Linked DNA regions of Homo sapiens: all the other regions are linked to region 4. Evidence: promoter capture Hi-C in human tissues and cell types (Jung and others, 2019). All regions are on one chromosome and are shown on one strand. The core of a region is centred on a gene start or on the middle of the fragment in contact, and the rest is flanking DNA. Distances in the headings are between cores, read along the strand shown.

Region 1 (6,804 bases), core at 3,856-6,355, 600 kb after region 4:
CAGGCAGCAGTGTGTGCCTCAATAAAGAACTCTGGGGGGTCTGGGGAGCAAGGGGCCAGGAAGGGGTCTCTCAAGAGGGGATGTGTCAGTTGAGGCCTGACGGAAGAGAACAGCCGGGGAAGGGGCAGAGCATGTCCAGGCAGGGGCGCGGCAGTGTGAGGGCCCCGAGGCGGAAGGAGCTCGTTGTGTTCTCAGACGACATCGGGCAGAAGCCACCTGGAGACCCCACAGCTCCCAACTGCGCAACCGGCGAGCAGGTGCAGTCGGCCCAGCCCACACGTTGCCTGCTCCACCCCCTCCACAAGTGGATGCTGCTTCAGATGAGCTGTGTCCCCCACAGGCACATCCCCGTCTGAACCCCTGCAGCTGTAATCATGACCCCATGTGAAATGAGGTCTTGGCCAGGTATGGTGGCTGACACCTGTAATCCCAGCATATTGGGAGGCCAAGGCGGGCAGATCACTTGAGGTCAGGAGTTCGAGACCAGCCTGACCAACATGGTTAAACTCTGTCTACTAAAAATACAAAAATTAGCTGAGTGTGGTGGCACCCGCCTGTAATTCCAGCTACTTGGGAGGCTGGGGCAGGGGAATCACTTGAACCCAGGAAGCGGAGGTTGCAGTGAGCCGAGATTGCGCCTTTGCATTCTAGTCTGGGCAACAGAGTGAGACTCCATCTCAAAAAAAAAAAAAAAAAAAAAGTGATGAGGTCTTGCAGACGTAGGTAAGATGAGGTCATCCTGGAGGTGGCGGGCCCTCATCCAATGCCTGGTGTCCTCATGGGAAGAGGAACATTTACACACAGACACACAGAGCAGAAGGCCGTATGGAGACAGAGACGGGAAGGCAGACCGCCACACAACACAGGAACAGGCCGGGTTCTGCGGCTGCAAGCCAGGGAGGGCCCAGGAATCACCGGCCATGACTGGAGCTGGGAGAGGCAGGAGGGGCCTCCCCTCGGCCCCCAGAGGGAGTGGGGTCCTGCCCACACCTGCCCACGCCTTGATTTTGGACTTCTGGACTCCAGAACGAAGAGATGATAAGTTCTGTTGTCTTATGCCACTGGTGTGACTGGTGGCTAAATGGCAGGCGCAGAACGAAAGAACCAGCTCAGACGACAGAGCGCCTGGAACTGTGGAACCCTGTCCTGGGTACATGATGCCAAGAGCTGGCTCTCTAGATAGGTTTCAGGTTGGGCTGGTGTTCGGGGCAAAGAATGGCTGAAGCTTACACCGCAAGAGACACAGTTAATGGCAAGAAAATGACGGTGGGCTGGGCGCAGTGGCTCATGCCTGTAATCCCAGAACTCTGGGAGGCCGAGGTGGGAAAATCACTTGAGCTTAGGAGTTCGAGACCAGCCTGGCCAACATAGTGAGACTCCATCTTTACAAAAAAATAAAAAATTAGCCGGGCATGGTGGTGGTGCCTGTAGTCCCAGCAAGTCAAAACGCTGAGGTAGGAGGATCGCTTGAGGCCAGGAGGTCAAGGCTGCAGTTAGCCACGATCACGCCACTGCACTCCAGCCTGGGTGACAGAGCGAGACCCTGAGTCAAAAAAGAAAGCTGGCCGGGCGTGGTGGCTCACGCCTGTAATCCCAGCACTTTGGGAGGCCAAGGCGGGTGGATCACAAGGTCAGGAGATCGAGACCATCCTGGCTAACATGGTGAAACCCTGTCTCTACTAAAAATACAAAAAATTAGCCGGGCGTGGTAGCGGGCGCCTGTAGCCCCAGCTACTCAGGAGGCTGAGGCAGGAGAATGGCATGAACCCGGGAGGTGGAGCTTGCAGTGAGCCGAGATCACACCACTTCACTCCAGCCTGGGCGACAGAGCGAGACCCTGTGTCAAAAAAGAAAGCTGATAGCGGCAGAAGCTTGCTTATGCGTGTGTGTGTAAAACCAACTCTTGCACGATCAAGGGCAGGCTGGGAGTGTCTCAAGTGTTGGGGTCTCCAGAAACAGTGGAAATGCTACAGGGACAGAGGCCACCACCCGGCGGGGCCCACCTTATTCCAGATGAAGGTGCCCAGCAGGTTGTTGTCTCCGAAGGGGTTGTCGGTGTTGGTGTAGCCCATGTACTCCTCACCCCAGCCCATCTTCTCCCGCTTCTTGCGCTCCTTGGCCTCCTTCTTGGCCAGCCGCCGTGCGCGCTTCTCCTCGGGCGTCTCGAAGGCCTTCATCAGCTCCTCCTGCTGCTTCCGCTCCTCCCGCAGCCGCAGCCGCTCCTGCAGGCTCTGCTGCTGGCTCAGGGCAGCCGCGGCCGCCCGGGGGCTCTGGGATCGCCCTGGAGACGCGGAGCTGGATGCTGAGGAGCTAGGAGACCACGAGCGTGCGCGCCGTCGCCGGCGAGCCCACTGGCCCCGTGACTGCTCCTCTCCTGAGTCCGACTGAGAGGACCCATCTCTTGAGTGCCACTTGGGCCGCGGGGGGCTCCGGCTTCGCATCCCTGAGCGCTGCCACCGCTCTTCCTCTGAATCTGACCTGCGGAGAGGACCATGGATGCCTGCTCAGTGCCTGCAGCTGTCATCTGCTCCACAGATGCTTACTGGGTGCCCGTGGGGGAGCAGGCACTGTTCTAGGTTCTGGGGACACAGCAGTGACCCAAATACCGATGGCTTCTGCCTTCCTGGGCTCACCCTCTGGTGGGCCCCAACAAGGAAGACATCAACAAATAAACACACCACGCAACACTAGGCAGAGGCAGAAGCCACAAAGAGTAGCAATGCCGAGCACAGGGGCTGGGGCTGCAGGGCCGAGGTCAGAGAGGGGCTCTCTCAGGAGCTGACACTGAGCCAAGGTCTGGAGGGAGTGGGGAGGCAGCGATGGGTGGATTCGGAGGGAGAGTGCTCGAGGCAGAGCAAGAGCGAGGGCCTAGAGGCAGGCACTGACCTGCCACATTCTAAGAACAACAAGGAGGCTGTATGGCTGAGACAGAGTGTGGGGGAGAGGGAGGAGGCGCGGGCAGGGAGGTGGCTGGGGCTGGTGGCGCAGGAATTATAAGGGTACGAACCAGGGGACCCGAACACATTTAGGCTGTCAAGGGAGGGCTTCCTAGATGGAAGTGGTATTTGAACTAGTCCCACAGGATGGACAGGAGTTAACAGAGTAGAGCGCAGGGAATGGAAGATGCACAACCTCAGGGGTGGTTCAGGGGCCTTTAATTTTATTTATTAGAGACAAGGTCTACTAGACACAGAGTCTACTAGAGACAAGGTCTATATTTTTATTTATTAGAGACAGAGTCTCCCTCTGTCACACAGGCTGGAGTGCATGATCAGAGCTCACTGCAGCCTTGACCTCCTGGGCTCAAGCCATCCTCTCGCCTCAGCCTCCTGAGTAGCGGGGACTACAGGCACACACCACCACGCCCAGGTAACTCTTTACATTTTTTTGTACAGAGGGGTCTTGCTATGTTGCCCAGGCTGGTCTTGAACTCCTGGGCTCAGGCAAGCCTCCTGTCTCAGCCTCCCAAAGTGTTGGGATTACAGATGTGAGCCACTGCGCTCAGTCACGTTTAGGGGTCTTTGTACACAGAGAACTGCCAAATATTTTGTTAAATGCTCTACCCATTAAGCTCATGTCAAAAAAATCTAAACTATGTTGAAACCAATCATTGCAGAGCCCTTAAATATTGGCCACAAGTTCAACTGAATTTTCGTGAACATTAATTCTAATTACATATCTAGAGTGGCAAATTATTGTGAATAATTCCAATACCAGAAAATGGTAGGCGAAAAAACACAAAGATGACATTAACAAGACTTATGGGCAGGCGCGGTGGCTCACGCCTGTAATCCCAGCACTTTGGGAGGCCGAGGCGGGCAGATCACTTGAGGCCAGGAGTTCAAGACCTGCCTGGCCAATATGGAGAAATCCCAGCTCTACGAAAAAATTCAAAAATTAGCTGGGTGTGGCAACAAGCACCTGTAACCCCAGCTACCGGGGAGGCTGAGGCTGAAGAATCGCTTGAACCCAGGAGGCAGAGGTAACAGCCGAGATCGTGCCACTGCACCCCAGCCTGGGCGACAGAGCAAGACTCCGTCTCAAAAACAAACAAACAAAAAAACCAACAACCGATGAGTGAACTTGGCCCAGAGCGGGGCAAGACTGGCCTGAGTGTCAGCCACGAAGGGGCTGAGCCAGCACTGGGGCCCCGGTCTGGGAATCAGTCCCTGTCCCCATTTTGGTTTCTCTGTACTGGAGCCGGCTCAAGGCAAATCCGACCAAGTGCCCCATCTCCAGAAGAAAAGGACCATGGGGAAGCTGAGATTCAGGCACTAGGAATCAGCTGTGAGTCCTGCCAGCTGACACCGAGTCTTTTTCCCTCCCACAGCCCACCTCCATTAGCAAATGTTGTCTCCTCTACTTCCAGAATCCCTCTGAAATCTACGCACTTTGCCCGCTGTGGTTGACTACAGCCTCCCTCCCATCGAGACTGCCATCATCTACTGTCTGGACAATTGTGCCGTCCTACTCTGATGCCGCTCCTGCCTACCCCGCTCCATCCCTTCTCCACCTCAAAGCCAGAAAGTATGCAGAGTTAAGTCAGTCCACGTCACTCCCCTACCCAAACTCCTCTCAAGACTCTCCATTTCCCTCCGACTAATAGCCAAGATCTAATGTGCTGAGCACACAGGGCTCGATATGATATGATCTGATCTCTCGTTACCTCCCCGCCGCCTCGCTCACCCGGCTCCGGGCTGTCCCTCCAACCGCCCGGTCCCCTGCCTGGAACGCCTCTCGCCTTCCTTCCGCTGCCAGGTTAATTCCAACCGGTGGTCAATTGTCCCCTTCTCTAGGAAGCCCTCCCCGAGTAAGTCGGGGGTTTCCCGGTTCCCCGGGATCTCCAACCCTCGGTCGGGCGCTCCTGAGGTAGGAGCCGGATCCCCAGCGCTGCTCCCGCAGCGACCCCACCTGCGCTCCCGGCTCCGCCGCCTCCGTCTGCGCCGTCCCTCGTCCTCCCGGCGCCGTCGGTTTCGCCGCCCATGGCTCCTGCTCCGACTTCGGCTCCCGCTCTGACTCTGCCGCCTTCGGCCCCGGCGACCCGCGGACCGCGAGCGCGAGCGTGTGTCCCGACCCATCGGCTGGGCCAGTGGCCGCGGCACCAACACCAATAGCCGAAGCCTGCGCTGGGGGCCTTCCTCGCCCACGGCGCTCTCCAGGCTGCCCCGTTTGCGCCTGAGCCGGGAAAGAGCAACCCATCCCGTCGCCCCAGCCCGCAAGGACTCCGACACCCCAGACTTTCCACTACGTCTGCAAATGTGGACCGCGTGATTGACTCCAGTGGGATTGTTGCCTCCAGGGTGGCGGAGTCTCCTTTCAGGCAGTGCTGGAGGCAGCCCTAGGCGGGTCCCCACGCCTCAGGGGGCCTGAGAAACTGTGGGCGGGGCAAGGGCAAACTAGGAACCTTGTGCAGGGAGGGGCCTGCCGAGGCGAGACCAATAAGAAGCGGGTCTAGGTCGGAAGTAGCGCTTCATTGGCGTGGCCAGGGGCGTGGCCGAGGAGAGGCGTGTCCGGGGAGCGAGGTCCCCGAAAGGCGAGGAACCGGGAAGGTGTTAGGTGCCAGGCAGCTCCAGAGGGCAGAGGGCGGGCGCGGGGACAGAAACTGAAAAGCCTTCTTATGAGAGTCATCGTTATGCTCCACCACCTGCCAATGAACACCTATGTATTTTGGGAGTTAAGCTTTAAAAAAAAACAAAAACTTTGATAACTCCCTGTATTCCCCCATCAACCCATTTTAGAGACGGGGAAACTGAGGCTCAGAGAGGGAAAGTCACTCTTAACACTTGCCTTCTCAACCCAGGCTGCCCAGCTTTGTGGTGTGGGTGCTGGGGACCCGTGGGAGGGTTGTGAGCAGGGTTTGGGGGACTTGCTGTTGAAACAAGTTTGGCGTGGGAGGACGGACTTCAGGGGCAAGGCTGGAGGCCAGAGACCTAGAAGACGCTGATGTCCCATCCTGAGCTCCCCTAGCCCATGGTGGCTGCTACCACCACCCCGTGCAGTTCTAACCACTCGGGGCTGGGAAGGCCTGTTTATGGAGGATGATAGTAATTTAAGCTAACTTTTAAAATATTTATCTTGGCCGGGCACGGTGGCTCACGCCTGTAACCCCAGCACTTTGAGAGGCCGAGGCGGGCGGATCACCTGAGGTCGGGAGTTCAAGACCAGCCTGGCCAATATGGTGAAACCCTATCTCTACTAAATAATACAAAAATTAGCCGGGTGTGGTGGCATGCACCTGTGATCCCAGCTACTTGGGAGGTTGAGGCAGGGAGAATTGCTTGAACCTGGGAGGCGGAGGTCGCAGTGAGCCGAGATCGTGCCACTGCGCTATGGCCTCGGCGATAGAGCAAGACTCCGTCTCAAAAAAAAAAAGAAAATTAAAATGTTTATCTTGAGTGGGGTGCAGTGGCTCATGCCTGTAATCCCAACACTTTGGGAGGCCGTGGCAGGTGGATCTTGAGGTCAGGAGTTCGAGACCAGCCTGTCCAACATGGCGAAACCCCGTCTCTACTAAAAATACAAAAATTAGCTGGGCATGGTGGCATGCTTGTAATTCCAGCTACTCGGGAGGCTGAGGCAGAAGAATCGCTTGAACCCAGGAGGCAGAGGTTCCTGTGAGTTGAGATCGCATCATTGCACTCCAACCTGGGCGACAGAGCAAGTCCCCGTCTCAAATAAATAAATAAATAAATAAATAAATAAATAAAACGTTTATCTTGGAATACAACTTCATAACATCCCCGTAAACGCTGGCTTTGTATGCTTTGCTTGGTGTTAAGGCAAGGATGGAACCTTACAGAGGAA
Region 2 (5,968 bases), core at 3,469-5,968, 780 kb before region 4:
ACAACAATGAGGTGCGGCCTCTGCCTGGCTCCGGGCGGCTCGCGGCGGGCTGAGTGGCTGACGTCAGGGGGACCTGCCTGTGTCTGTCCGCCCGGCCTCGAGTCATGCGTGTTTCCTTTCCACTCCAGGGGAGCTACCTGGCACATACGCAGGGGAAGAAGCACCAGACCAACCTGTGAGTACCTCATGTCCCTTTGATGCCTGGTGCTCCAGCAGCCGTTGGCTCAAGTCTCTGTGAGCCTCGCGGGCCACTGCTCCACAGCCGGGGAGCCAGCCTGGCCTGAGCCTCCCTGGGCGCTTGAGTACGGTTCCTGGGGAGCATTAGAGAACAGAGGCATGGATGGCTGAGGCGGGCAGATCACTTGAGGTCAGGAGTTCGAGACCAGCCTGGCCAACATTGTGAAACTCCATCTCTACTAAAAATACAAAAATTAGGCCAGGCATGGTGGCACACGTCTGTAATCACAGCTACTATGGAGGCTGAGGCAGGAGAATCTTGAATCTGGGAGGCAGAGATTGCAGTGAACCAAGGTGCTGCCACTGTACTCCATCCTGGGCGACAGAGTGAGACTCTTGTCTTATTAAAAAAAAAAAAAAAGAGCAGAGGCATGGAGTTGTTGGAAGGGCCCCAGCCAGGGACAGTGAGGAGCATGACAGGAAGAGAACATGCCTGTCCTATCCCTGTCCTCAGCCAAACCCCAGGGCCCCTCCCAGGCCCCTGGCCCTCCTCATCTCTCAGCTTGTAGTGAGCTCCAAGGTCAGGGGGCTCCTGGCACCTGGGCCCATGGCTTTGGTGCCTGTGTGTGGAGGGGTCCCAGCAGCACCTCCATCCTGTCCGCAGGGCCCGGCGAGCAGCCAAGGAGGCCAAGGAGGCCCCTGCCCAGCCCGCGCCTGAGAAGGTCAAGGTGGAGGTGAAGAAGTTTGTGAAGATCGGCCGCCCGGGCTACAAAGGTGAGTCTGCCCGCAGCGGGGCCGGCCACAGCCGCTGCCGTGACATAAGTGTGTTCTTTAGTCTCCAGTGCGGGAGGTGCAGCCCTGATAGCCTCCTCCCTGAGCCACTGTTTTCCGGCCTTGGTGGCCGTCCCTCACCCACCTGCAGCCTCTGGCGTTGTGTCTGGGAGCTGTCAGGCTGGGCCCGATAAGCACCCATCTCACCCAGCAGCCCATTTCCCAGCTGAGCCACAGTCTGTGCCCTCCTGTCCGGGTCTTGTGGAAGCTTCTGGGAATTCTTGCCAAGCAAAAGAGTGGAAGTGGAGGTGTGGTGAGCCCTGGCACATCCCTCCGGTTAACCTTGAAGCCTTTGAAGGAGGACAGGGAGAAGCGGCTGTTAGAGGCAGCTCCTCCCGGACCCTCAGCAGTGGGAATGGCTAGAGGTGACCCCGGTTCAGAAAGCTGGGGAAGTGACCAGGGTGGAAGATAGAGACTTGTGTCCATAGGGTTCAGGAAGGCGGGCACGCTACCCAGCAAGTGTTCTTTACAGAAGGCGGGGACAGCCTGTGTGCCTGGCCTCCAGACAGAAGCCTGCAGGGCAGAGGTCCCGGGGCAGGTGCACCGGGTGGGCGAGGGTGGCTAGAGCGGCAGGCTCCTGGTGGGGAGGCCCTGACAGGTCCTGGGCTTGGGCTCAGGACGGTGAGGCGGCAGAGGGCTTGTGAGTGTGCGTGTCTGAGGCCGCATGGAGAGTGGCCGGGCGGCAGGCAGCCCAGCAGCCATTCTCGGGGTCCAGGCTGCTGAGCTCTGGCGGGAAGGGCATCCTCTCTCGCTCACCGTATACATGGTGTCAGCCCTGTTCAGGCGGCCCCGCTCGAATCCCAGAGCCAGGGTGCCGAGGGCCCCTCCCTACCCAGTGGCCCCAACTCCTGCTGGGTGGTATCCCAGCACCCCTGGTGAAGGGCTCTGGGGATTGGGACAAAGGAGCACCATCCTCGGTCCCTGCCTGAGTGACTCCGCAGGTAGCTCAGCTCTGGCGCACCTGTGCCTTCACCTATACCAGAATCCCAGAGCCTGGGCGGAGATTGTCTAATGGTTGCCAGAGCTGCAGGGCCTCCCCCGGGGTCCCGCTCTCGTTCAGTGGGTGGCATTAGCCTGCCCCAGGTTCCTCAGCTTCGGAGAGGACAAGCAGCCGGGACCTGAGAGCTTTCTGTGTTGCAGTGACCAAGCAGAGAGACTCGGAGATGGGCCAGCAGAGCCTCCTCTTCCAGGTGAGATCAGGGACTTGGGCGTGGGGGGCGGCCAAAGGCACCCAAGAGGCGGCTCTGCCACCCGGCCGTGTCCCTGCAGATTGACTACCCTGAGATCGCCGAGGGCATCATGCCACGTCACCGCTTCATGTCTGCGTACGAGCAGAGGATCGAGCCTCCGGACCGGCGCTGGCAGTACCTGCTCATGGCCGCCGAGCCCTACGAGACCATTGCCTTCAAGGTAGCGTGGCTGCGGGGTTCCCTGGGCCCCCTTGAGATGTGCAAGCCAGAAGGATCTGCATAGGCTGGGCAGGATGCCCCTCCCATCGGGCTTGGGGTCCCCTGGGCCCCCCCCAAGTCGGAGCCAGAAGGGTCTGCACAGGCCGGGCAGGGCACCTCTCCCATTGGGCTCTGCAGGAGGGCCTGCTTGGGCTCCACTGGGCCAATGAGAAGGGAGGCCGGCAGGGCTGAGCGCCAGGCCTGTGAGGCCTTTGCCAAGTGACCTCACTTCCTGGGCCAGGCTGCTGGAGGGCTTCCTACAGCCTGTCCCCATGCCTGGACAGGGCGGCCATCAGGAAACAAATAATACAAACGGTGACTGCCCAGGGAGGGGGCCAACAGCGTGCTAGCATTGAGGCCAGGTCTGTTTCACTCCAGAACTGAACCCTGTGCCCCACGAAAGTCTTACCAGCCTTCTCCTGGGCTCCCAGGGTAGAGTCCGGGCTGGGGAGGCTAGTGCCTCGGGCTCCCTGCCTGATGGTCGCCCTGAGGTCACAGGGACCAGGAGCCCTCTCTGTCCCCCGCCCTCCCAGGTGCCGAGCAGAGAGATCGACAAGGCGGAGGGCAAGTTCTGGACACACTGGAACCGGGAGACCAAGCAGGTGAGTGGCTCGCCCCGAGCCTGGCTCCTTCCCACCCAGCCCTGGCGGCCCTAGCCCTGCCCTAGCCCCACCCGTGCCTGCTGAACCTTTCTCCGTCTCTCTAGTTCTTCCTCCAGTTCCACTTTAAGATGGAGAAGCCCCCGGCTCCACCCAGCCTCCCTGCTGGCCCCCCTGGGGTGAAGCGGCCTCCACCCCCGCTGATGAACGGTCTGCCCCCTCGGCCACCGCTGCCTGAGTCTTTGCCACCGCCCCCGCCAGGAGGCCTGCCTCTGCCACCCATGCCCCCCACAGGGCCTGCGCCCTCAGGGCCCCCGGGACCACCCCAGCTACCCCCGCCAGCTCCAGGGGTCCACCCCCCGGCCCCAGTGGTGCATCCCCCTGCATCTGGGGTCCATCCCCCAGCTCCTGGCGTCCACCCCCCAGCTCCTGGCGTCCATCCCCCAGCCCCTGGGGTCCACCCACCAACCTCTGGGGTCCACCCCCCAGCTCCTGGAGTCCACCCTCCAGCCCCCGGGGTTCACCCACCAGCCCCCGGAGTCCACCCACCAGCCCCTGGGGTTCACCCACCAGCCCCAGGGGTCCATCCTCCCCCATCAGCGGGGGTTCACCCCCAGGCCCCGGGGGTGCACCCAGCAGCCCCCGCCGTTCACCCTCAGGCCCCAGGGGTGCACCCACCAGCCCCAGGGATGCACCCTCAGGCCCCGGGGGTCCACCCCCAACCTCCCGGGGTCCATCCGTCGGCTCCTGGGGTCCACCCTCAGCCTCCGGGAGTTCACCCCTCAAATCCTGGGGTGCACCCCCCAACTCCCATGCCCCCAATGCTGAGGCCCCCACTTCCCTCCGAAGGCCCAGGGAACATACCTCCCCCTCCCCCAACCAACTGAGAAGCTGCTCCCTCCCCCAGCAAGCCCAGCGCCAGGTGCTCTTGCCTTTTCCCACTGAGAGAAGGCTGCTCTTTTGTACTGCCCCCCGCTCATTAAACAGCCTCCCCCAGCCCTGAGTGCACTGATGTCCGCAGCGCCGCCCTACTGTGTCAGTGTGTGTGGGAGTGCCAGGCACAGCACCATCCCCCAGTTTGGGCCGACTGGGGAGGGCCTGGGGCCCGCCAGGAGACACCTGTGGGAGGCCTGAGAGATGGCTGTACCTTGGAGATGGCCTGGTGGAGGACAGACCCCACCAGCCAGCTAGGAGGGGATCTGGGGTCCTGTTCTGGGGAGGGAAGAGCAGACTCCACGATATCCTTGGGGTCTCCAGATAGCCCACCAGGGGTGGGGAGGGTGAGCAGGGACAGGGCGCCCCCACTGACTTGGGACCCTCCTCCTCCAGGCCCACACCTCAGCACCCAGGACATCTGGGCCCCCCGCCCCCAGCGCTGTCTAGTTTGGTTGCCTGGCCGTCACTCCCAGCCTGGTTCCCACTCCTGTGTCTTCTGGGGATGGCCCTCAAGGACGGCATGTTGACACATCAGGCCCAGCTCTATCACTGGGGAGGGAGATAGGCTGCCAGGGACAGAAAGGGCTCTTTGAGAAGGCCACTCTGCCTGGAGTGGGGGCGCCGGGCACTGTCCCCCAAGGTCGCGGCAGAGGAGATAGGGGTCTGTCCTGCACAAACACCCCACCTTCCACTCGGCTCACTTAAGGCAGGCAGCCCAGCCCCTGGCAGCACCCACGATGCGGGACCTGCCTCTCACCAGCCTGGCCCTAGTGCTGTCTGCCCTGGGGGCTCTGCTGGGGACTGAGGCCCTCAGAGCAGAGGAGCCAGCTGTGGGCACCAGTGGCCTCATCTTCCGAGAAGACTTGGACTGGCCTCCAGGCAGCCCACAAGAGCCTCTGTGCCTGGTGGCACTGGGCGGGGACAGCAATGGCAGCAGCTCCCCCCTGCGGGTGGTGGGGGCTCTAAGCGCCTATGAGCAGGCCTTCCTGGGGGCCGTGCAGAGGGCCCGCTGGGGCCCCCGAGACCTGGCCACCTTCGGGGTCTGCAACACCGGTGACAGGCAGGCTGCCTTGCCCTCTCTACGGCGGCTGGGGGCCTGGCTGCGGGACCCTGGGGGGCAGCGCCTGGTGGTCCTACACCTGGAGGAAGGTATGTGGGGCCCAGCCCCAAGCTTGGCACCGCCGTCTTCCTTCAGGTGGGCCGGGTCCTCCTAGGGAAGATCAGGGGCTGGCAGAGCCCCCACCCTGGGCAGGGAGGCTGTGGTCTTGTTCCTAGGACTGGGTTGCGGGTCCGTGGCCTGGAAGGTGGGCACCACACTCTGTCCTGTCCCCGAAGCCCAGCTCTTAGACTTGCCCCTGCCTCGGTGCCAGGGAGAGAGCTGCTGCCTTCTCCCCACCCCTGAAGACGACGCAGGGCTCGGGGCCAGTGGAACCCTTCTTCCCACAGCCCCAGCCTGTTCTCAGGGCCGCTGGCCTAAGATACTCCCTGCGGGGAAGGGGCTTCATCGGGCACCCCAACCCAGAGACCCCAGGGCGGCAGCCCCACCCACAGCCTCAGACGCAGCCCCTGCCTGCCCCTGCCGTCACCGCTCCCTGGCTGCAGGAAGGCAGCTAAGAGGGGCACCCTTGTCCCCCGCTTGAGGTCCCCTGCACAGTGGCCAGAGCGGCAGGGACAGATCCCAAAGATTCCCGGGGGGTGTGGCCTTCAATGGCTCAGGCGTCCCCTGCTGTCCCGGCTGCAGTGACCTGGGAGCCAACACCCTCGCTGAGGTTCCAGGAGCCCCCGCCTGGAGGAGCTGGCCCCCCAGAGCTGGCGCTGCTGGTGCTGTACCCTGGGCCTGGCCCTGAGGTCACTGTGACGAGGGCTGGGCTGCCGGGTGCCCAGGTACCAGGGAGTTGCATGGGGCAGTGCCCGGGCCGTGGCGGGGGGCATGGATTTGTTGCAGGGTCTGCAGTACTGAGAACAGCGTAGAACCAG
Region 3 (6,000 bases), core at 1-2,500, 600 kb before region 4:
GAAGCAGGGTCAAAGCAAGCCCTGACAAGGGGAAGGCTGTCCCCCTTAGCCTTTGGGGCAGGGGTGGCAGCAGCAACACATTCCTCGTGACTCAGCAGCCCGGTGGCACTAAGGGGAAAGATGGACTTCTCCCAACCCAGGGGAGGCTGAGACCCTCCGAGCTGGGGTTCCAGGGACACGCGTCACCTCTTCCCAGAGACCCCTCAGGAGGGAAATAAAGAGGTTTCTCTCCGTCCTCCACCAATTTATTTGCCCATCCGCAGGAGGTGACAGCTCCTGTGGTGTCTGACCACCCCCAACTCCGAAGTCCAGACAAGCTGTCCGCCCAGAATATGAGGCTGACTTGGGCACACTAGGGGAATACCCCAAAGGCCTGAAGGAGGTGCCACTGGGCTGCCAGCACTTCAGGAAGGCACAGGGCCCCACACCCCCGAGATCCAAGCTGCACTGGCTGGCAGGGGGCAGGGCGGGGGGTGGCGAGGACACAGTCCCGTGTGTCCCAGCACCGGTGCCACCCTCCTAAGCCCCGGGCAGGCAGTACGTACATGCGGACCCCGCCTCTCAAAGCACGTTTATGGAAATGAACAGGGTGGGGTGGCCCGCGCTCGCCGGTCACATGTTGGCTCGTTCCCGCTGCAGCCGCGAGTTGTAGGCGCGAGACACGGTGTTCCAGGCGTCCATGTAGCGGTCCATGCACATGGCGATGCACTTCTGCGGGAGCGGAGGGGCGCACGGCTCAGCTCGGGACTTCGCGGCCCCGGGGACCGCCCTGACCCCGGCTCCAGGACGCCCGGGCTGCAGACTACGCACGTGCAGTGACCACTCCGTCGCACCTCCCCGTTAGTCTGCGCACGCGCAGACACCTCCCCCCTCGAATCTAGGCCCTCGCGACCCTTGCCCCGAACCTCCGCGGGTCTCACCTGCTCGGAGTTGTCCAGGGAGCCCCCAGGTTTCCCTATACACTTCCGGAAACACTTGTCCGTCATCCTCTGTGGAGACACGCGAGGCTTTAGCCGCGACGTCGGCCCCCAGGGGTGGCCCTGTCGCCCCCAGCGCCCGTCCCCGGCCAGCCCCGCACCTGCAGCAGCTCCTGCGCGTTGGCCACGGCGATCTGCACTTTCACCTGCTCCATTATGAGCCCTGGGTCCAGCTTCCCGCTGCCGGAGCCCCCGAAATCGGAGCCGAAGCCGCCCTCCATGGCTCCGCAAAGTCAACCGGACCGAGGCCGCGTGCGCCGACTCGTAACTAACTGCGCCGGAAGCGGGCCGCCCGGGGCACCACGGGAAACGGAGTCCGCGCGGACGGGGACGGAGGACTACAACTCCCACACGACCGCGCGCGCCCGGGCCATTCAAGGTCGCGCGGGGGGCCCTCCGCTCATGCGGAGGCCTGGACCTGCCGTTACCTACACGAGCTACCCGTGGTTGCGACTCCGCGGGAAGAGGGAGGCCCTGACTTGGCCGGGGAGTAGGGGGGCTACTACGTGCGGCCGAGGCCGATCACTTTGTACTCACGCTCTGCCTCCAGCTCGTCCCGAAGGGCCTGCCGCGCATGCGCACGAGGCACCCGGCGCGTCTATACAGCGTGTTGCCGCCGGGGCGGAGCCCGGTCGCATCACGTGACGAAGAGTCAGCTTGTGCAACAGCGTCGGAGGCTCACTAGAAAAAAAAGGGCAGGGTCCCATGCATCGCCTGGGTCCTGTTTACACTAGCTACACTAGCCAGTGACCTTTTTCCTTGGGGGTGGAGGGATCTTTCTTAGACATCCGCTTCATTAGGGCAGAGGCCCCGGCTCGAGCTTCCCCTCAGGAATAAACTCAGAGGCAGAACCTAAAATCAAAATGTTTATTGGAGTGTTGTACAAAAAAGTTTCCAGTCATAAAATGTATATTACAAATCATTGGAAAAAAAAAAGAACACATTAGGCATGCATCTTCTTAAAAACCGAATCTCTGAAATGAAAGTCCATGCCAGCCCCAGCTGCAGCCCAGCTCCGTTTTTGCAGGTTGTGCTGTGACGCTCGCTGGACGCAGGGCTTGGAAGAGGCTGCAGGCGGCGACGCCCCAGGACTGAGGAGTCCCTCAGATCTTTAACAAAGAACTGCCGCGTGCAGGCTTCAGACCAACCCCAGCCAAAGCCGCTGGCATGAGGACAGGTGCATGATCGGATTCTGGGTCAGCCCGCAGGCCTCCCGGCTCCTGGGCTCAGCGGGGCAGGCTTCAGCGTTAACCTGGCGCTGTGCACCCCAGAACCCGCGTTGGTCCAGCAGGCGTGGGCCTCCCCCCAGGGCTGGGTGGCGTCTGATGCTTCGCAGGGAGGGCGCTAGGCTTCGAGTCACACGGCACGGGCTTACACAGAGGGATGGTTTCGCATCGTTCTAAGCGGCACACAGCTAAGCGTATTTGGGGACAAATGCAAATTGTTTCCCAGGCCATAAATAACTTTTAAAAATTTGATTTTCTTAGTGTTTCCAAAGACTCAATTCTCAATGAACCTCCAATTACCCACAGGCTGCCCAGTCCACGCTTCTCCCCACCCCCTTCAGCTAAGGGCACCCGCAGTCCTAGGACCACCCCCAGCTCCACCCAAGGCAAATGTAGGGTGGGGGGTTCTGTGGGCCTGGGGCGTGCTGTTTTCAGGACAGGACTGGGCAGCGTCTGGACATGAGGACCTGCGGGTTTTGGGGGGGACTTTGTCCCTGAGCCCAGCCTGCAAGGCTGTCGGCAAATCACAGACCAACTCCAGGATACAGCTTTGCTCCTCCAGAGCCAAAATACATAGGATGTGGCTGAGACCACTGCAGACTCCCCATAGGACAAGATCACCAAGACCCACCCCCAGAACCCTCGCTAGCACGAAGCCCAGCCAGTCGGGTCCGGGTGATTCCTGCTATGAAGGTGGGAAAGAGGACACAGTCTGTCGCCAGCATTCCCACTTCCAGCGGCTGGCAGAGGGTATCCCCGGGGCAGGCAAAGCTCCCTACCAGCCGCCTGACTGGGAGCACAGCGGCGTAGCCTCCAGGAGGAAATGCTTTGGTAAGATGCGCCCCCCTCTATCTACATGGGACCGGGACTTCTGAGAGCAAGGACAGCGAGCAGGGGCTACGTGGAGCAGCGGGTGTTTCTGCTTTGTCGGCCGCTGGCTCCTTCCCGGCCTGGGGCTGGGGCCCCCCATTCCTTCCTGCCACAGGCAGGTCCCCAGGGAGGCGGGATGCAGTCACAGGGGAGCGGTGCCGCCCCCGCCCTGCAGTGAACGCCATGGCCCGGAGACGGCGCGTGCCCATGGCTCAGTTTTGGTGTCTTTAAGACTTGAGCTGCACTTTCTGAAGGAGGCTCTGCCGTCGGAGGGTGCCCCAGCCCCACGCCACCCCGGGGAGGAGGGTCAGCCTGTCCTCAAGGCCCTGGCGTGAGCTCCTGACCTGTGTACTGACCAATGTAAAAAAATAAATATCCATTAAAAAAATAACTTCTGTGTATCTATGAGGGAGGGTGTAAACGGTGAGCTATTGCCGAAGGGGGGTGCCAGGCATTGGGAAGCTGGACTGAGGGGCTTGGGTGCGTCGTGATAGGAGTCAGGTGGCCTTGGCCTGTCTGAGAAACATGGTTTCAGCGAGAAAATCACAGATAAAAGCACAGTATGGATAGACGCATGTGTATATATAGGCACAGGGCAGACGGAGCTGGAACACGGGAGGGGCTCCACAGCGCTCTCCTCCAGAGGGTCAACATGGTGGCGTTCCCTGCAGACAGCTGTTCTGAAACTCACAGCTTCTGCCTCCAAGGCAACCAGATGTGTCCCCTCCACATCTCCCCTCCCTGCTTATTGTTGTGACAGGTCTTACGACGGGACTGTCCTCATTCTTCCTTCCCCAGGTCTTCCCCTCCCCTGCCCTGTTGGCCTTGCACAGTCAGGAACTGAACTGCGGGAAAACTCCCCCAAATAAAGTCAACGGTCCGAGAAACCCGGCCGGTGCGCTGCCAGAACGGGAATCTGGAAGCCCAGGCAGCGGAGTGAAAACCCGCCCTGGGGGCCACGCCATCCCCATGCTGGCCCACACCCGCTGCGTGGCTGCCTGAGGAGTTCCCGCTGTCCGAAGCTGGGCAGCCAGAATGCAGGCTTGGCCCCGGGCCCCACCAGGTCGACGCCTGGATTCTGAATTTGGTTTTGTAGAAAGCCTTAAAAAAACCCACCACCACTGAATTCCTACGCAGTTTCCGCGCTCCGTCCGCAGCAGGGCCGTCTCCTGTCCCCTCGCTAGCCTCGCCGGCCCTCCTCCCTCCAAGCCCAAGCATCTTCTAAACCTCCGGGTCCTGGCCCTGGGCTTCCAATTTGACCAAATGGTGAGATGAGGAGTGGGGTGGGATTGAAAAGTCTCCGGGGCAGCGGCGAAGTGGCAGCGAAGTGAGGCTGGAGGAGACCCGCCAGGAGGGAGGGCTGGGGGAGACCCACCCACACGTTCTGGCAGTTCGCTTAGAAATTCTCTAGAAATGTATCAAGAACTAAAGAAAGCCAATGATATAAAAATAGTTTTCAGTGGCTCTGGGTAAAGAAAGGTGTGTGGATGAGGAGTGTGGGTTCACATCACGTAGCAGCCTCTTGAGGTGGTCCTCGGGTCCCCCTGCAGGAAGGAAGGAAGGAAGGTCGGCCATGATCAGGGCCAGCCTGGAGGCAGCCGGCAGGTAGATGGCTGCCCCCACCTCCCCACCAGGGAGGGGCTGAGCAACAACAGTGTCTATTTCTAGAGCCTTCCATTCCACTTCCATGTCCCCATGAGCCCGCCTGTGAGCTACACATTCTGTTCTGGGTTCCAAAACAGTCACAGGAACTTGCGACGCACGCGTTTAATGCAGCTGTGGTTTCTGCACTCATCTTCTCCCCAGAAGCCAGTATTGAAGGGACCTGTGTCTTCGACTGAGGAAGCCGGTTGACCAGAGAGCATTTGGGGAGCTGTTCAACACCCACCTCTCAGGGGACCCCCTGGCCAGCTACCCTGAGGTCTGTGATGTCGCAAATTCACACGATGGGCACGACCCAGGAGGCAAGAACAGGTCTCTGCCGTGCTGGTAACAGCCAAGGCTGGCTTCACCCTGAGCCACGGCAGCCAGATGGAGCTCCCGTCGGGGATGCGGCCAGCACGCATGTGTATGTGTGTGCACGAGCTCACTCTGCCCCAGAGGCTGCCCCCCAGCCGCAAGTGGGCACAGGGGTCCTACCTGTTGGTGGAAAAGATCCTCCTCGCCAAACTCGGCTTCCTCCTCCTCTTCCTCCCCATTCTCATTCTCACGCATCACCGAGGACTTCTTCACAGTCCTCATGGCCACTTCCTGTGCGGGACAGGACACGGCGGCATGTCCCGGGATCGGGCCCAGAGCTGCTGTGGCGGCCCCGAGGGTGCCCAGACCCTGCCCAGGACTCCAGCCGAGCACCCCCCAAGCCACACACACCCACCTCGCCATCCGCGTTAACCAGGACGGTGCGGAAGCTCTCGCCCGTGCCCCAGCTGCTCTGGCCCTTCCACACCAGCGTCGAGGGGGGGCTGTGGGCCACCCCCGCACCAGCTGCCCACACCTGAGGACCCAATAACAATGGCCCCATCAGGGTCACCTCTGGTTCCAGGGACGTGGGCCAGCCAGTGGCCCCTACCACAAAGCCCCCTTCAATGCCCTGGGCGTTCAGTCCTTCCAGCCCGACGCAGGCTTATCCAGGGTGATGGTCCCCAGGATACACAAGAAGAGACCAGGGTTCACAGAGGCCAAGGGCTCTTGGCAAGCAGGGGCTGAACTGGGATCTGACACCCACCAGGCTCCATGGCCCATGCGCCTGACTGTTAACACTTCACGGGGACGCCTGCCAGCCCCAGCAGCCTGGACTCAGACCCAGGGCACACCACTCAGGCTCCAGGGAGGCCCAGTGGGGTGACACCAGCACATGGAGGTTCTATGACTGCGGCAGCCGCTCTGAGACGGTGCCTGGTGCCACCATCATCCCCACCCACCCCCGC
Region 4 (6,758 bases), core at 3,281-5,780:
GGGGGTCAGCTCTATGCCTTGCTTCCCATCAAGGGGGAAAACAGCCCCCAGTCCTCACCCTCAGCCAACACCTCCCTCCATCCCTGCAGCCCCTGCCCCAGCGGGATGCCTGGCCTCAGGGCTGCGGGACTACTGCAGTGAAAATGGTCTCTATCCGTGCTGCAGGCTACGCGGCAGAATCAGTGCCTGGGGCGTCCTCGCCCAGACCTACCCCCTCCCGTCTTCTTCCGGCTCCCTTCCCCTCCTCCCCCCACCCCCAGGCCCACTCACCTCCTGGGTCAGGAAGGGGATAATCTGAGCGCAGATACCGCTCAGACGCTTCACAATCTCCGCCTGGCAGGAAGCAATGAGAGGAAGCTTGGAGCGGGGTAGAGATTTGCAACCCAGCTCTGGACTCCCAGGCGGACCAGGTGTTGGCAAAGCCGAAGGGTTGGGGAGGTGACGCCCGCAGGTGCACAGAGGGAACTCAGGCTAGCATGGCATGGGCCGAGGTGGGATTCAGAGCCCCACCAGGCTGCGTGCTCAGCTGAGCGAGGCCCAGGGTGGCCTGGAGCTGGGAAGACCAGGGCTGAGGTCCTACGAGTCACAGATACACCACCCGCCAGACGCACACCCGCCAGGGATTTGCAGGAGGCAGACGCTCAGACACCCAACTCAGACGCAGACACTCAGAGGTGCTGGGCTCAGCTGAAACAAAGGAAAGGGGCCTCCGCCTGGAGTCCCAGATTCCAGCCCCGGCTTGGCCCACGTCTGTCCCAGGCAAGGCCCCTTTCTTGGTCTCCTCCGCTTCCCAGGACTGATCTACCAGCTGGGGATGCCTCCAGGTGGAGATCTCAGCACGCCACACTCAAGGGAAGGATTTCATCTGGAGAGGGTCTGGGCCCAGGTGCCCCAAAGAGGCTGAGCAGACGAGAAGGCGTGTGGGTGGGGAAGGGGGCGGGCATACAATGGCCACGGACTTTGCCTCTGCCTGAGTTACAGGTGTGCTGTGTGTCTGGCGAAGTCTGTGTCTCCTATTCCCACCAGGAGGGTGGAACTGGGATCCCAGGGTGTCCCGCACCCCATAAAGGGGGGTCTATTGCGTGGACCCATGGGACCACGCCATGCTTCAGCAGACAAGCCCCCTCCTGCCCACATCAGAACCAACAGAACCCCCACACATGCAGGAAAGCATGCCAGGGTGGGCAACCCCAGGCACCCCACACTCCCAGCCCACCCCCTTCTCCTTCCCAGCCACCGGGAAGTCCCAATACAAGGTTCTGCTCATTGATTCTAATATTCTGATAGAATCTAGGAGCCCATGAAGCTCAGAAGTTTGGGACCCCTCTCATCCCTTTAGAAACCACTGGCCAGTCTCAGGATCTCAGGATTAAGCATGGACCACTAAAGTCAATTTTAGAATCTTTGGGTCTATTGGCCGGGCAAGGTGGCTCACTCCTGTAATCCCAGCACTTTGGGAGGCCGAGGCAGGTGGATCACCTGAGGTCAGGAGTTCAAGACCAGCCTGGCCAACATGGAGAAACCCCGTCTCTACTAAAAATACAAAATATTAGCCAGGCATGGTAGCAGGCGCCTGTAATCCCAGCTCCTCGGGAGGCTGAGGCAGGAGAGGCGCTTGCACTCAGGAGGCAGAGGTTGCAGTGAGCCAAGATCAGGTCATTGCACTCCAGCCTGGGCAACAAGAGTGAAACTTTGTCTCAAAATTTAAAAAAAAAAAAAAAAAAAAAAAATCTTTAGGTCTATCTCAGAACCTTGAGATCAGAAGTTCGGGAATAGCCTCAGAACCTTTTAACACATCTCAGCACATAGATATGATAATCGCAGAACCCTGAGGTCTATCTCTGAACCCTGAGGTCAATCTCAGAACCCTGAGGTCTATCTCTGAACCCTGTCTATCTCAGAACCCTGAGGTCTATCTCTGAACCCTGATGTCTATCTCAGAACCCTGAGGTCTATCTCTGAACCTTGAGATCACAAGTTCAGGAACACCTCAGAACCTTTTAACACATCTCAGTACACAGATAGGACAATCTCAGAACCCTGAGGTTTATCTCTGACCCTTGAGGTCTATCTCTGAACCCTGAGGTCTATCTCAGAACCTTGAGGTCTATCTCAGAACTCTGAGGTCTATCTCTGACCCTTGAGGTCTATCTCTGAACCCTGAGGTCTATCTCAGGACCTTGAGGTCTATCTCAGAACCCTGAGGTCAATTTCAGAAATTTGAGGTCTATCTCAGAACCCTGAGGTCAATCTCAGAGCCCTGAGGTCTATCTCAGAACCTTGAGGTCTATCTCAGAAAACTGAGGTCAATCTCAGAACCGTGAGGTCTATCTCAGAACACTGAGGTCAATCTCAGAACCCTGAGGTCTATCTCTGAACCTTGAGGTCAATCTCAGAACCCTGAGGTCTATTTCAGAACCCTGAAGTCTGTCTCAGAACCTTGGATCACACTGAGAAGCTCCAGAAGAGGCTCAGAGCCTTACGACACTGGAGTCAATCTCAAAGCCCTGAAGACAGCCACAGAGTTTTGAGGTCTATTTTGGAGTAGTGGGGTCACAGTCTGAACCATGGCATCAAATTCAGGGCCTGGAGAACAATCTTGGAACCTTCCAGCCAATCACACTGAGACCAATCTCAGAAGCTTCAAAGCAGCAACAGAACCTGGGGTCCATCTCAAAACTTCAGACTTTCTGGGTTGAAAGGGACCTCTAAGAGTGGCCATCCAGCTCCCTCCTAGGACAGAAGTCACTTCCACAGCCTCCCTGGCCTGGCTGCCCTGCCTCTGCTATGTGCCCTCCTTGATGGGGATGCCTGGTGGCCCCTGCCCACTGCCTGCATCTCTGCTGGACGCTCCAACTGCTAGATACTGTCTTCAGAAGGTGGGACTCATTTTCCTTCCACGAGGCTGAAATCTGTCTTCCTGGTCCCAGATGGGCCCTCTGTGACCTCTGCGGAGATTTCAGGATGAGACCCGTGTTCCCTAGGTCTGCTCTGGCCCCGGCTGCCCACTCTGGGTCCTTCTCAGGGCTTCCAGACCCCCACCCTCCCTCCTGAACACGCGTAACCCCAACCCAGTTACCTGCTTATGCATTTCAATGTTGAGCCCGTACGACATCTCATAATACTGCAAAGGAAAAACCAAGTAAGAACGTCTAGGGTGGAGATGGGTGCCCTCCTCCAGATAGGTGATGCCAGGGTCTTCCAAGAGTCCCCAGGTTCAGGGGAATCACAGCAGGAAGCAGAGCCCCCCCCAGCTCCACGGGGTCCCAGAGGAGGAAGCGGGGGCTCTGCCTGGAAGGGCCCCCTCTACTCTCCCCAGAGAGGCAGGGCAGGTAGGAAGTGTCCAGAGGCCCTGGCCCGACAGAGACTCCCATCAGGCGAGGGGTCCTCCCTGTCTCCCCATTCCCAGAGCTGGGAGGACCCTCCTAGAGAGCCTGAAATCCCAACCTGCCCAATGTACAGACGGGGAAGACGAGGTTCGGAGTGGGGCAGGGACCTACCCCAGAGTCCACCGTGACTCAAAGCCCTGCCCGCCTCTCCCCTCACCCTGGCATCATAAGTGCCCTCACCATGACATAATGTCGCTGCATTTCCGTCTTCTCGCTGGCCAGCTTCTCACATTCTAGCTTGAGGCTGAGAAGAAGAGAGAGGGCAAGGGGCTCCCACCCGCCCCATGTGGGCCGGCTTCCAAAGTGAGAGGCTGGATCTCCCCCTCCCGACTTCCTTACAGACCTCCCCCCACCTCCTGTCCCAGTCCCTCCCCGCCCCTTCCTGGGCTCCAAATGCCCCAGCTCTGACTGTCCCCAGACCCCTCTGCACCTGCGCTTCCACCTGGAGGCCTTTGTCGCGCCCCCCCTCCAACCGGGAGCCCCTCCTCCCCGCCCTATACCCCGGAGGCCTCGCCCCGCCCCGGCGCCCAGGTGAACTCCCGCGGCCCCTGGGGCGGCCCCCCTCACCTGTGGTATTGAGCCTGAAGAAACTGGAATTCTTCTTTGATGCGGTCGCAGATCTCCAAGATCGAGAACTTGAAGGGCTGGCCGGACTGGAGCGGGGTCTGGGGGGGGTGTGGGGGAAACGTCAGGGTCTGAGTTCCCGGACACTGGGGGCCCCCTCCCCGCAGTCCGCACTCACCGGGTGCCTTCCCTGGGGGTACATCCTGCCGATCCGAAAAGCCCCCCAGGCGCCACCAGAGCTTGATGATATGGAGGCGGCAAGAGTGGGGGAGGCTGAAGTGGGGTGGTGGGGAGGCTGCCCGAAGAAAGAGGGAGGAGGGAGAAGCGGCGCGGGGCAAGGGACCCTGGAGTCCCTGGCGCGCCCCCAAGCGCGCGCGCCCGGGGTCGTGGGAGCCCCTCCCCGGGTTGGGGTGCGCGGGGCGAGCGGGGCGGGCAGGGGCAGCGGCCGGGGCGGGAGCGCGGCGAGGGCGGCCGCGGCAGCCGGCGCAGAAGGTCGGGCGCGCCGCGGCCGGGTTTCGGTGGCGGCGGCGCGGGCGGCGGGCCCCGCGCGGAGCCGCCTCCCTCCGGCGGGGCTCGGCCGGGAGCCGCGGGCTGAGCCGCCTTAAGGTGGCGCCGCCGCCCCCACGCGCCCGCGGCCCGCCCCGCGCCCACCCCCGCGCACCGCCCCTCCCCGCGCCCGCGCCCCCCCCGGCCCCCGGGCACCCGCCCCCTTCCTTCAGTCCCTGGGCCGTTGGGGAAACTGAGGCCGGGTGGGGAGGCGCCCAGTGCCTTAAAACAGGGTCCCCACCCCCTCCCGGAGGGGCGGGAGAAGAAAAACCAGTGAAGAAATTCACACCGTGTTACCCACCGTGGGAGCGGGGGGGGGGGCTTGCGGGGAGCGGGGACCAGTCTGGAGTCGGAAATGGCTTTTCTGAGCAAGTGACATTGGGTTGAGATTGAAGGGTCAGCAGGACGCAGCCTTGCCAAGCGCTGGCAGGGAACCCTGCCAGAAAGGGAATCTCACAGCAAACACTGCTTCCCAGATCATGCCGGGCCCTCGCCCTCTGGGGGCCTCAGTAGTCTCTGCAAAAGGTCAGGGGTGGTGCGCTATCTTTAGGGTTTAATTTTTTGCAGAGATAGGGTCTCCCTGTGTTGCCCAGGCTGGAGTACAGTGGGGCAATCATGGCTCACTGCAGCCTCGAACTCCTGGGCTCAAGCGATCCTTCCCCCTCAGCTTCTCCAGTAGCTGGGACTACAGGTGTGCACCACCACGCCCAGCTAATTTTTTAATTTTTTGCAGAGATGGAGTAGGGGGGCGTCTCACTATGTTGCCCAGGCTGGTCTTGAACTCCTGGACTCAAGCCTCTCTCTTCGGCCTTCCAAAGTGCTGGGATTACGGGCGGGAGCCACCGCACTGGGCACTGCACTTAAATGAGATAGTGCATGAACGCTGTCAGCCTCTCCCTACACAGAGCAAACTTCCACAGATGGGAATTGTGTTCCTACTGCCATCACCAGTGGACTGGGCTGTCTCCCCTCTCAGACTGGGTTTCTTGAAGGCAGGAGCCGTGTCCCACTCAGAACTGGAAGAACCACAGCTCTGCCATCAGACTCAAGTCTCTCCCACGGCAAAGGCTCCAGCCCCGACCAGAGACCACAGACATCCAGCCAGCATCCTTCAGGCCCACCCGGGGAGTGGGAAGTTCTTATTCTCTTTGGAGAAACCTCAGGAGAGGTTTGTGAAGTCAATCAACAAACGTGTACTAAATGCATACTGTGGACCACACACTGCTGTAGACACTGGGGCACAGCTGGGAACAAAACAGAGAAAAATCCATGCCCCTTGATGACACTTGGACTTGTGTCCTTAGGTGATCGAGTACCTAATGGTACCTAAGGGTTAGGGTTACAAAAACCCATTTTGTACCCTTACAAAAGGGCACAAGAGCCCTTATCAATGGGCCAGGGGTGGTGGGTCATGCCTGTAGCTCCAGCACTTTGGGAAGCTGAGGAGGGAGGATCGCTTGAGCCCAGGAGTTCAAGACCAGTGTGGACAACACCGCGACAATACAAAAAAACATTTTTGTGTTTTTTGTATCTCTACAAAAAATACAAAAATAATTAGCCAGGCATGGTGATGCACACCTGTGGTCCCGGCTACTTGGGGGGCTGAGGCGGGAGATACCTGAGCCCCAGAAGGTCAAGGCTGCACTGAGTTGAGATCACATCACTGCACTCCAGCCTGGGTGACAGAGCAGGACCTTGTCTCAAAAAAAAAAAAAAAAAGCCCTTATCAAATTTAAAGCCATCGTTTTCCAGCCCACAGATATTTACAGAGCACCTATGACGTGTCAGGCATCCTTCCAGGCACAGGGATTGTAAGGGTGGATAAGGGAGACAGATCCCTGCCCTCTCTGAGTTTGTGGGATGTGAGTGACAGGCTAGGCAGGTTCACAGCTTGGTAATTATGGGACTATTTGTACAGACAGAGGAAGAGTTTAGAGGGCAGTGATAGAGATGAACAAAAGCAAACCTGCTTATGTGGGGTGTCTGGGAGAGGACCCTTGGGGGAGGGTAGCCTTGGAGATGAGACCTGAACGATGAGGTTGGGCAGCTCTGGGAAGGGAGGAAAAGAGACACAGCCTGGGATAAAGATACAATTGTGTGTGTGTGTGTGTGTGTGTGTGTGTGTGTGTGTGTGTGTGTAGTACTCACTAGCTCCCTATTGCCCTCAAAATAAATCCAAACTCATCTCTCTTCCCACAAGGCTCTTCACAAAACTCTTCCCCTTTTCCCCTTCACCATCTCTTTATGTTTTGTTTATTG

Evidence for each region. Contacts are between HindIII fragments. The study calls those that stand out against the background at their distance.
Region 1: the fragment with the promoter of CACTIN here is called in contact with the fragment with the promoter of TLE2 in region 4 in 2 of the 25 tissues and cell types used here (heart right ventricle and small bowel).
Region 2: the fragment with the promoter of AMH here is called in contact with the fragment with the promoter of TLE2 in region 4 in 1 of the 25 tissues and cell types used here (dorsolateral prefrontal cortex).
Region 3: the fragment with the promoter of TIMM13 here is called in contact with the fragment with the promoter of TLE2 in region 4 in 1 of the 25 tissues and cell types used here (dorsolateral prefrontal cortex).

The regions. Positions count from the first base shown.
Region 1 is chr19:3,621,685-3,628,488 of GRCh38, forward strand. CACTIN (cactin, spliceosome C complex subunit) reads right to left here and starts at 5,106. Exons shown (of 10, transcript NM_001080543.2): 1 at 4,912-5,106; 2 at 2,004-2,478. The coding sequence starts at 5,078. RefSeq lists enhancers at 2,267-2,768, 3,495-4,056, 4,057-4,618, 4,619-5,180, 5,070-5,439 and 1 more. The HindIII fragment of the contact is 17,013 bases long and covers 1,549-6,804 here.
Region 2 is chr19:2,244,605-2,250,572 of GRCh38, forward strand. AMH (anti-Mullerian hormone) reads left to right here and starts at 4,719. Exons shown (of 5, transcript NM_000479.5): 1 at 4,719-5,140; 2 at 5,733-5,875. The coding sequence starts at 4,729. SF3A2 (splicing factor 3a subunit 2) reads left to right here. Exons shown (of 9, transcript NM_007165.5): 3 at 1-11; 4 at 129-175; 5 at 842-951; 6 at 2,149-2,198; 7 at 2,278-2,418; 8 at 2,990-3,058; 9 at 3,163-4,051. The coding sequence ends at 3,942. RefSeq lists enhancers at 976-1,476, 1,730-2,807, 2,106-2,607, 4,662-4,801 and promoters at 1,730-4,728, 2,663-4,697, 4,449-4,728, 4,519-4,728, 4,697-4,728. The HindIII fragment of the contact is 11,600 bases long and covers 1-5,968 here.
Region 3 is chr19:2,426,336-2,432,335 of GRCh38, forward strand. TIMM13 (translocase of inner mitochondrial membrane 13) reads right to left here and starts at 1,251. Exons shown (of 3, transcript NM_012458.4): 1 at 1,079-1,251; 2 at 921-989; 3 at 1-711. The coding sequence starts at 1,198. The coding sequence ends at 613. It overlaps LMNB2 (lamin B2), which reads right to left. Exons shown (of 12, transcript NM_032737.4): 10 at 5,448-5,567; 11 at 5,213-5,323; 12 at 1,831-4,617. The coding sequence ends at 4,576. RefSeq lists enhancers at 1-741, 742-1,487, 1,572-1,721 and a silencer at 932-1,021. The HindIII fragment of the contact is 21,330 bases long and covers 1-6,000 here.
Region 4 is chr19:3,024,750-3,031,507 of GRCh38, forward strand. TLE2 (TLE family member 2, transcriptional corepressor) reads right to left here and starts at 4,531. Exons shown (of 20, transcript NM_003260.5): 1 at 4,132-4,531; 2 at 3,957-4,054; 3 at 3,570-3,633; 4 at 3,080-3,124; 5 at 271-333. The coding sequence starts at 4,155. The HindIII fragment of the contact is 30,131 bases long and covers 1,500-6,758 here.